2 separate regions of the Homo sapiens genome follow, and region 2 is linked to region 1. The links are contacts of gene promoters, found by promoter capture Hi-C in blood cells and fetal thymus (Javierre and others, 2016). All regions are on one chromosome and are shown on one strand. Each heading gives the region's core, a stretch centred on a gene start or on the middle of the fragment in contact. The rest is flanking DNA. Distances are from core to core; before and after follow the strand shown.

The links. The method cuts DNA at HindIII sites, captures the fragments that hold promoters and counts their contacts. A CHiCAGO score of 5 or more calls a contact.
Region 2: a contact is called between a fragment that was not itself captured here and the fragment with the promoter of MMACHC in region 1, in 2 of 17 cell types (total B cells and naive B cells). The highest score is 6.1, in total B cells.

What each region holds. Positions count from the first base shown.
Region 1 is chr1:45,497,223-45,502,211 of GRCh38, reverse strand. MMACHC (metabolism of cobalamin associated C) reads right to left here and starts at 1,912. Exons shown (of 4, transcript NM_015506.3): 1 at 1,799-1,912. The coding sequence starts at 1,879. It overlaps CCDC163 (CCDC163 homolog), which reads left to right and starts at 2,139. Exons shown (of 5, transcript NM_001102601.3): 1 at 2,139-2,680; 2 at 2,769-2,867; 3 at 4,829-4,913. The coding sequence starts at 2,603. RefSeq lists enhancers at 1,918-2,117, 1,667-2,199. The HindIII fragment of the contact is 9,755 bases long and covers 662-4,989 here.
Region 2 is chr1:45,364,948-45,369,936 of GRCh38, reverse strand. The region is part of intron 4 of TESK2 (testis associated actin remodelling kinase 2); the gene reads left to right. Among named protein-coding and RNA genes, the nearest start is that of TOE1, 27 kb to the right of the region's middle. The HindIII fragment of the contact is 4,073 bases long and covers 742-4,814 here.

The sequences.
Region 1 (4,989 bases), core at 663-3,162:
GAATTGTCTAGTTTGGTGGAAGTGAAGGGTCTGTAGAGGGAATCAGAGGGAGAGAAGGCTGGAGAGATCAATAGGAGTGAGATTTTGATTGGCTTTGAATACCAATTTAAGGAATATGGATTTAATTTGGTGACAGTGAAGAGCCACTGAAGATTTAAGGAGTAAACTAGCATGATCATTTTTAGATCACACTGGCTGCAGTGTGGAGGAGGGACTGGAGGTAAAATTACAGCAAGGAGGTTATTACAGTAATCCAAGTGAGAAATGGTGGCCTGGACCACAGCATAGATGGGTGGAATACAAGGGAATGGATTTGGGAGATTCAGTAGACAGTCTTATAGGTCTTGGTGGCTGATTGGATGTGGGGGTAGGGAGGTGAGAGGTAGGAGCCTAGGGTGACTGGCAGGGCTGCAGTTGGCTTTGTTCAGTACAAAAGCTCCTAATACCCAGGTCTACTCAACTTGCCAGATAGGCATTCTCACTCTCCCACACACCTGCCATCCACTGAAACGGTGTCTCAAAGAGTTAAAGGTCGATCTGCAACAAATAGCTTTTGTTTTCTCAAAAACCCAGTGTCATAATATTAGCTTCCAGCACATCAGGCATCAAGCCCTTTTACTTGGTAACACCACACCACTATCTCCACACCTTTACTCAAGCTTTTTCTGATATTTGGGATGTACATAACCCTCCTTCCTTCCAATCTATCTTTTCATATATAGCTCAATTCCATTTTTTCTGGCAAGACCAGTCTCAAGCTAGACCCAACCTACTTCTCCCTCTATATCCTCTCCCAGGACTGCTGTGAGCCACTCAGCAGAAGGAATGGGAAGTGGGTAGTCTCTTAAGCATCAGGCAAAGGGCTCAAGCTGAGCTGATTTAGCTTTGTAACTTAACTGCTCAGTGCACAGGGCACTGATGTGGGGAAATGTAACCGTGTAAATGGGGGTCGGGGTGCGGTGCTGAGACTGCTGTGCCAGGCAAGTGTACAAAGTTTCATTACCCAGCCCAGCACTGATGACTGGAAATATCATGAATTATCCTTCTGTTGGTAGAGGGAACAAACCAGCCAATTGTTTGCCTGTTCATCACCAGGAATGCCCTTCCTTCCTCAGCTGACCTAAATGATAGCTATGCAAACCTTCTAGGCTTTGCCCTCTCCTAAATCCTTTAGGAAGTTCCAAGGTGACTTTGCCTCACAGGTCCCTTTCTTCTTGTAAATTATATAGGTGACAATCTGAGCCACACACGCTACAGGTCATATGGTGTCTCCCGTTAACGAATCCGGCATTATATGGTGGCAAAAGGTTAAACATGCGACAACTTTTTTTTTTTTTTTTTTTTTTGACACGGAGTTTCGCTCTTTGTTGCTCAGGCTGGACTGCAATGGCGCAATCTCGGCTCACTGCAACCTCCGTCTCATGGGTTCAAGCAATTGTCCTGCCTCAGCCTCCCGAGTAGCTGGGATTACAGGCATGCACCACCACGCCCGGCTAATTTTATATTTTTAGTAGAGATGGGGTTTCACCATGTTGGCCAGGCTGGTCTCGAACTCCTCACCTCAGGTGATCCGCCCGCCTCGGCCTCCCAAAGTGCTGGGATTACAGGCGTGAGCCACCATGCCCGGCCTCGACCACTACCTTTTTAACCCAAGCCCCCACTGAAACTCTGTCCCTGTTGTCACATGGACACTGGGCTGCAGGAACCCAGGAGGATCAGAGGCTCCCGAGGCCTCACGCCAGTTGCAACGAAGCCAATCATATATTTCGCCCTAGAACAGCAGGAGGGATAAACTAACCTGGAAGGGGTAAACCTCGAAGCCAAAAGGACATAGCGTGTCCTCGATCTTCTGCTTCAGCTCTGCGACTTTCGGCTCCATAGCGCACGTTACACGCTGAGCTTGCTGGGGAATGAAGTCTCAAGGACAATTGGGCCGTTACGTTTTGAGTCAGCTTCGACTCCATTTCCCAGGTAGGAAATGGGTCCAGTAGCGGGACCATATTGCCTATGCGCGATGCATCTTGGGATGCGTAGTTCGTTTCCTCCTTGGAGACAGCCACACGAAATCAGGAAGACTCAGTTTCCCGGCAAGCTACACGGTGGGGGTGTGCATGTACGTGTCTCTTCTAGAGAAAGGTAGTTCCACCGCCTCCATCGCCGGTTGTGTTCGCAAGAGGCGACCTCAGTTTCCCAGGTGGCGCTGCGGCAGCCAGTCCAAAGTCGGACTTTCAAAACCAACCCGAAGTTTTGAACCCGGCGGCGGCAGTTGTCACTGGCACAGGTTTGGCGTGGTGGCGCCAGTGTACTACTTCTGGGGAGGTCTCAACCAGGTTCTGGCACCTTCAATCCCCACCTGATATCTGCGTATCATCACGGTATCCCGCTTTTCCCCCAGTTCCCCAAGAGCGTCCTTCCTTTCCCTAGTCACAGGATCGCAGTTTTGGTCTGATAGTGCATCCACCTACCCCAGTGTTGCATCCCCACTTCCCTCTTTCCATCTAACGTGGTGGCCTTTCCTGGGGATACCTTGGGTATCCCCCGCTAGGAGAGCAAGCACAAGACACCAGGGAGCCAGACCCCTGCCGCTCCCCTGCCACAGGATATGAATACGAGCCTCAGCTGGTTTGAGCAGCTGGATGTGCTTCTCAACGCTACTGATGGAAATGTGGTCCGGAATAAGGTGAGGGGTTGGTGGAGGTCCCCAGTTTGCGTGGGGAGGCTAAGGGACTCTCAGAGTTCATTGGCCTGTGCATCTGTTTCTTTTGTAGCAGTGGCTGTATCCTCTTGGGGTCTCCACAGAGCTCATTGGCCTGTGCATCTGTTTCTTCTGTAGCAGTGGCTGTATCTTCTTGGGGTCTCCACCGCAGGTAAGTAATGTCTCTTTCTACTTCCAAGCCCTTTCTCTTTCTGTGCCTTCCTCCAGTGCCCGTATCATCCATTATTCCTTCCAAATTCCAACTCTGTCCTTTCCTGAACTCTGTTTCCCCACACAGACCCTGCACTTAACCCTTCCTTATTTCCTCAGCCGGGGACCTGGCTGGGACCTGGATTTCCTCTCATCACTTGCCTCTGCAGTCAGGAGTCCAAGCTCAACAGCCTTGGGCTTTAGAGACTCCCATAGTTCCACAAAGGCTGAGCTGCCCTGAGTCCTAGAGCCCATCCTCTCTCTGGGGTGAGGTTGCTATTCTCTGATCCTAATTTCAATGTCAGGCTCAGGTGAGGCTTGGAATCCTTGGTGTGTATATGTGATGTTTGTGTAAGATGAGGATACTAGGGGTCGGGAAAAGCTGTTATACAGTAGTTCATGTGCTTTTTTCTGCCTGGGGAGGTGACAGGCACTAAGGCAGGCAGTGCAGGGCCTGCTAGAAGAGCGAGAGCAGCAGAAGTACCAGATCAGTGTCCTGGAAGGTATCTGGCCAGTTATTTTCTTCATATACACAGCTTCATATGTATGCACACAATTTTGCCACACACCTGTTGTGTGTGCACATGTGTCTTGTTTTGCAAGTAGAGTATCTAGGGTCTTGTGAAACTCTTAGAGAGGATGATCCCTAACTTGTCCCACTACAGCATCACTAAGGTTGCTGCAGGGGGCCCCAAAGGGGAGTGCTTTTCTCCTGGAGCAATGCCTGGAGGAGCTGAGAAAGGAACTGCAGGGCCTTCAGAGCCAGGTGTGGGAGCAAACCCAAGCCCAAGCCCAAGCCCAGATGCAAACAGGACCAGGAGAATGCAGTACTACCAATGGCCTTCCTCAGGAGCTGCAGACTGAGTAAGGGATAGTCAAGACCTTGCCTTCTTTTTTTTTTTTTTTTTTTTTGGGTTTGTTTTTCTTTTATTGATCATTCTTGGGTGTTTCTCACAGAGGGGGATTTGGCAGGGTCATAGGACAATAGTGGAGGGAAGGTCAGCAGATAAACAAGTGAACAAAGGTCTCTGGTTTTCCTAGGCAGAGGACCCTGCGGCCTTCGGCAGTGTTTGTGTCCCTGGGTACTTGAGATTAGGGAGTGGTGATGACTCTTAATGAGCATACTGCCTTCAAGCATCTGTTTAACAAAGCACATCTTGCACCGCCCTTAATCCATTTAACTCTGAGTGGACACAGCACATGTTTCAGAGAGCACAGGGTTGGGGGTAAGGTCACAGATCAACAGGATCCCAAGGCAGAAGAATTTTTCTTAGTACAGAACAAAATGAAAAGTCTCCCATGTCTACTTCTTTCTACACAGACACGGCAACCATCCGATTTCTCAATCTTTTCCCCACCTTTCCCCCCTTTCTATTCCACAAAGCCGCCATTGTCATCCTGGCCCGTTCTCAATGAGCTGTTGGGCACACCTCCCAGACGGGGTGGTGGCCGGGCAGAGGGGCTCCTCACTTCCCAGTAGGGGTGGCCGGGCAGAGGCACCCCTCACCTCCCGGATGGGGTGGCTGGCCGGGCGGGGGGCTGACACCCCCACCTCCCTCCCAGACGGGGCGGCTGGCCTGGCGGGGGGCTGACCCCCTCCACCTCCCTCCCGGACGGGGTGGCTGCCGGGCGGAGACGCTCCTCACTTCCCAGACGGGGTGGCGGCCGGGCAGAGGCTGCAGTCTCGGCACTTTGGGAGGCCAAGGCAGGCGGCTGGGAGGTGGAGGTTGTAGCGAGCCGAGATCACGCCACTGCACTCCAGCCTGGGCGCCATTGAGCACTGAGTGCGGCCTTGCCTTCTTGAGGCCTTTGAACTTTTGGCATTTGTAGTGGGACAAGTTGGGGATCATCCTCTCTAAGAGTTTCACAAGACCCTAGATACTCTACTTGCCTTCTTACTCTGGATTTGTTGATTGACTTTAGAATAGCACTGCTGTCACTCCTGCAGTGCTGTGGGAGGAGTCAGAGATTATGCAGAAGGAATTGAAGTTGCTGCAGTACCAGTTGAGTAAGTAAAAGGTGGTTGGGGGCGAATATGCGTTTCCTTGTCCCCTTTTCTGGAAAGTCATCTTCTTCTTTTATTT
Region 2 (4,989 bases), core at 1,529-4,028, 130 kb after region 1:
GTTCGAGACCAGCCTGGCCAACATGGTGAAACCCCCATCTCTACTAAAAATACAAAAATTAGCTGGGTGTGATGGTGCGCACCTTTAATCCCAGCTACTGGGGAGGTTGAGGCAGGAGAATTGCTTGAACCCAGGAGGTGGAGGTTGCAGTGAGCTGAGATTGTACCGCTGCACTCCAGCCTGGGTGATAGAGCAAGACTCCATCTCAAAAAAAAAAAAAGAAAAATTATCTTACCTTCAAGACCTGGCCTCAGAGTCCGCTTATTTCCCCATAAAACCTTTCCTGATTCTTTTTCTCGGCCGCATCCTCTCTGCCCGCCTCCACTGCCACCACTCATTTGATCATAATGTTTCCCTCCATTCATCTTCTCCTATATAGAATTTTTGTACCTTTGTTATTACACATTCTTTCTTTTCTTTCCTTTTATTTATTTATTTATTTAGAGATGGAGTTTCACTTTTGTTGCCCAGGCTGGAGTGCAGTGGTGCAATCTCGGCTAACTGCAACCTCCACCTTCTGGTTTCAAGTGATTCTCCTGCCTCAGCCTCCTGGGATTACAGGTGCCCACCACCATGCCCAGCTAATTTTGTTGTATTTTTAGTAGAGACGGGGTTTCACAATGTTGGCCAGGCTGGTCTTGAACTCTTGACCTCGTGATCCACCTGCCTTGGCCTCCCAAAGTGCTGAGATTACAGGCGTGAGCCACTGCACTCAGCCCCATTCTTTCATTTATTAAAGCTTTTTTTGCTTTAGCTTCCCTACATAAATGTACACTCCTAGGGTAGAAGAAACCCAGGCTTTTAGGTCACAAGGCTTGGATACAAATCCAAGCTGTACTATTTACTAGTTGAATAATCATAGGCAAGTTATTTAAGTTCTCTGGGCCAGCCTGGTGGCTCATACCCATAATCCCAGCACTTTGGGAGGCCGAGGCAGGTGGATCACTTAAGGTCAGGAGTTCAAGACCAGCCTGACCAACATGGTGAAACCCCATCTCCACTAAAAACACACACACAAAAATTAGCCAGGCATGGTGGCGCACACCTGTAATTCCAGCTTCTTGGGAGGCTGAGGCAGGAGAATTGCTTGAACCCAGGAGGTGGAGGTTGCAGTGAGCCAAGATGGCGCCATTGCACTCCAGCCTGGGCAACAAGAACAAAACTCCATCTCAAAAAACAAACAAACAAAAACCAGCCAGGTGCAGTGGCTCACACCTGGGCAACAAGAGCAAAACTCCGTCTCAAAAAACAAACAACCAACCAGCCGGGTGCGGTGGCTCATGCCTGTAATCTCAGCACTTTGGGAGGCCGAGGCAGGTGGATCACCTGAGGTCAGGAGTTCGAGACCAGCCTGACCAATAAGGTGAAACCTCGTCTCTACTAAAAAATACAAAAATTAGCCGGGCGTGGTGGCAGGCGCCTGTAGTCCCAGGTACTCGGGAGGCTGAGACAGGAGAATTGCTTGAACCCAGAGGCGGAGGTTGCAGTGAGCTGAGATTGCGCCACTGCAGCCCAGCCTGGGCAATGGAGCGGGACTCCGTCTGAAAAACAAAACAAAAGAAAACCAAAAAAAACAAAAAACACACACAAAAAAACAAAAACAAAAAGATGACAAGAATGTTTCAAGATATTACAATGGTCAGGCCGGGTGTGGTGGCTCACACCTGTAATCCCAGCACTTCGGGAGGCCAAGATGGGTGGATCACCTGAAGTCAGGAGTTCAAGACCAGCCTGGCCAACATGGTGAAACCCATCTCTATTAAATATACAAAAAATTAGCCGGGTGTGGTGGCAGGCGCCTGTAATCCCAGCTACTCGGGAGGCTGAGGCAGGAGAATCATTTGAACCCAGGAGGCGGAGGTTGCAGTGAGCCAAGATCGCGCCATTGCACTCCAGCCTGGGCAACAAGAGTGAAACTCCATCTCAAAAAAAAAAAAAAAAATTTCAATGGTCAAATGAGGTAACTATGAAAGTGCTTTGCCAGGCATGGTGGCTTACGCCTGTAATCCCAGCACTTTGAGAGGCTGAGGTGGGTAGATCACCTGAGGTCAGGAGTTCGAGACCAGCCTGGCCAACATGGTGAAACCCCGTCTCTACTAAAAATACAAAAAATTAGCTGGGCGTGGTGGGAGGCACCTGTAATCCCAGCTACTCGGGAGGCTGAGGCAGGAGAATTGCTTGAACCTGGGAGGCAGAGGTTGCAGTGAGCCAAGATCACTCCATTGCACTGCAGCCTGGGCAACAAGAGAGAAACTCCATCTCAAAAAAAAAAAAAAAAAATGCTTTGTGACCAGATGCAGTGGCTCACGCCTGTAATCCCTACACTTTGGGAGGCCGAGGCAGGTGGATCACCTGAGGTCAGGATTTGGATAGCAACCTGACAAACATGGTGAAACCCTATCTCTACTAAAAATACAACAATTAGCCAGGCATGGTGGCACATGCCTGTAATCCCAGCTACTTGGGAGACTGAGGCAAGAGAATTGCTTGAACCCGGAGTCAACAGAGACTCCATCTCAAAAAAAAAAAAAAAGGAGAACGAGGAACCAAATGATGCCCAGTTTCTAGGTGGGTGGCGATGCCGTTTACTGAGATGTAGAAAACTTGGAGGGTGCAGCTGGAATACTTCCTTCTTTCAGCTGTGTATGCATTACTTGGGAATTGGTTTTTTTGAATATAACACTAATCAACATGGTCTCCTCAATGTAGAAGATCAGACTCAGTCTTTTGCCTGAGCCTTTCTTTGTCTGAGTAGGCATTATTAAACATTTTATTTTATTTTATTTTATTTTATTTATTTTTTGAGACTAGGTCTGGCTCTAATGCCCAGGCTGGGGTGCAGTGTTGCAATGTTGGCTCACTGCAGCCTCTGCCTCCTCAGCTCAAGCCATCCTCCCACCTCAGCCTCCTGAGTAGCTGAGACTACAGGCATGCACCACTATGCCCAGCTAATTTTTGTATTTTTTGCAGAGACAAGGTTTTGCCATGTTACCCAGGCTGGTCTCGAACTCGTGAGCTCAAGCAATCTGCCCACCTTGGCCTCCAAAAGTGCTGGGATTACAGGCATGAGCCTCTGCGCCCAGCCAGCATTATTAAATATTTGTTTTTGCATGATATTTATTGGAAAGTTCCTCTAAAAGCACATTTCTCTTTTATATCTTAAATTACATTTTAATGATTAAATTGAGGGGTGGGGCTTCCAATAAAAGAGGGAACTTAAAACCCACCTCCATTTATTTAAATGCACTTAATTATGTATTTGTTTGTTCAACAATTTCACTGAGTTTTACAAAGGGGCTTACAAAATTGAGCAGGACCTAGTTCCTGCCATAAATGTTATAGTACAGTGTGATGAACAATAGTAGAAACATGTGCAGGATGCTAAAGTGGCACCAAGAATGGGCTCGAACTCCTGGGCTCAAGCAATACTCCTGCCTCAGCCTCCCAAAGTACTGGGATTACAGGTGTGAGCTACTGTGCCCAGCCTAGCACTAAGAATGGGATGGAGTATCAAGGAATGCTTTCCATGAGTTCAGAAGGATGAATAAGTGGCTGGCCGTGGTGGCTCACACCTGTAATCCCAACACTTTGGGAGGCTTAAGCGGTCAGATCACTTGAGGTCAGGAGTTTGAGACCAGCTGGCCAACATGTTGAAACTCCGTCTCTGCTAAAAATACCAAAAATTAGCCAGGTCTGGTGGTCCATGCCTGTAATCCCAGTTACTCAGGAGGCTGATGCAGGAGAATTGCTTAAACCCTGGAGGTGGAGGTTGCAGTGAGCTGGGATCACGCCACTGCACTCCAGCCTGGGTGACAAATAAATAAATAAGGGCCAGTGTGGTGGTTCATGCTTGTAATCCCAGCACTTTGGGAGGTCGAGGCAGGCGGATCACCTGAGGTCAGGAGTTTGAGACCAGCCTGGCCAACATGGTGAAACCCCGTCTCTACTAAAAATACAAAATTAGGCTGGGTGCAGTGGCTCATGCCTGTAATCCCAGCACTTTGGGAGGCCAAGGTAGGTGGATCACAAGGTCAGGAGTTCAAAACCAGCCTGACCAACATGGTGAAACCCCATCTCTACTAAAAATACAAAAATTAGCCAGGTGTGGTGGCACACGCCTGTAATCCCAGCTACTCAGGAGGCTGAGGCAGAATTGCTTGAACCCGGGAGGCAGAGGTTGCAGTGAGCTGAGATTACGCCACTGCACTGCAGCCTGGGCAACAGAGTGAGACTCTGTCTCAAAAAAAAAAAAAAAAAAAGCCGGGCGTGGTGGTGCACGCCTGTAATCCCAGCTACTCAGGAGGCAGAGGCAGGAGAATCACTTGAACGCAAGAGGAGGAGGTTGCAACGAGCTGAGATCATGCCATTGTGCTCCAGCCTGGGCAACGAGGGAAACTTTATCTCAAAATAATAATAATAAAAAAAATGAAAATAAATAAACAAGGAGGATGAATAAGAATTAGCAAAGCTATGAAGAAGGGTATTCAGCAAGCATATATGAAGGCCAAGAGTTAAACACTTAAATATTCTGAAATATATTTTGGGTTATTAACAACGTTTTACTCTGTGGCTAGAACTAGTGTTCCCTTTTTCTTTTTGAGTCAGCTCATTACTACTGACTGTTTCAGTCAGGCAGGCCCTGGTGAACCTCCTGGAGCGGTAGGCAAATTCAGTCCTTGGCAGATATACGGATGTACGCTTGTAGTGGCTGTGGATCCTCGAGCTGAGAACAGGAGGCTTCTTTGGAGCACAAGCCTCCCACAGGGCACTCTTGGGATGTCTGTTCTGGAATTACCCAGAGCAGTAACAAAGCTTTCTTTTCTTCCTTAACCCAAGCCAGCAGGATGGGATGTCGGCTAGCCTTTGTGTTTGGAGCCTACCAACAAACATACGGTGGCCAGCACAAAAGTATTGTTGGGCTACAGTGAAAACTAGGTCGGGGCCCAAACCCTTTTCTGCAAAGAGCCCCTCCAAAGAGTAGAGTGCCAA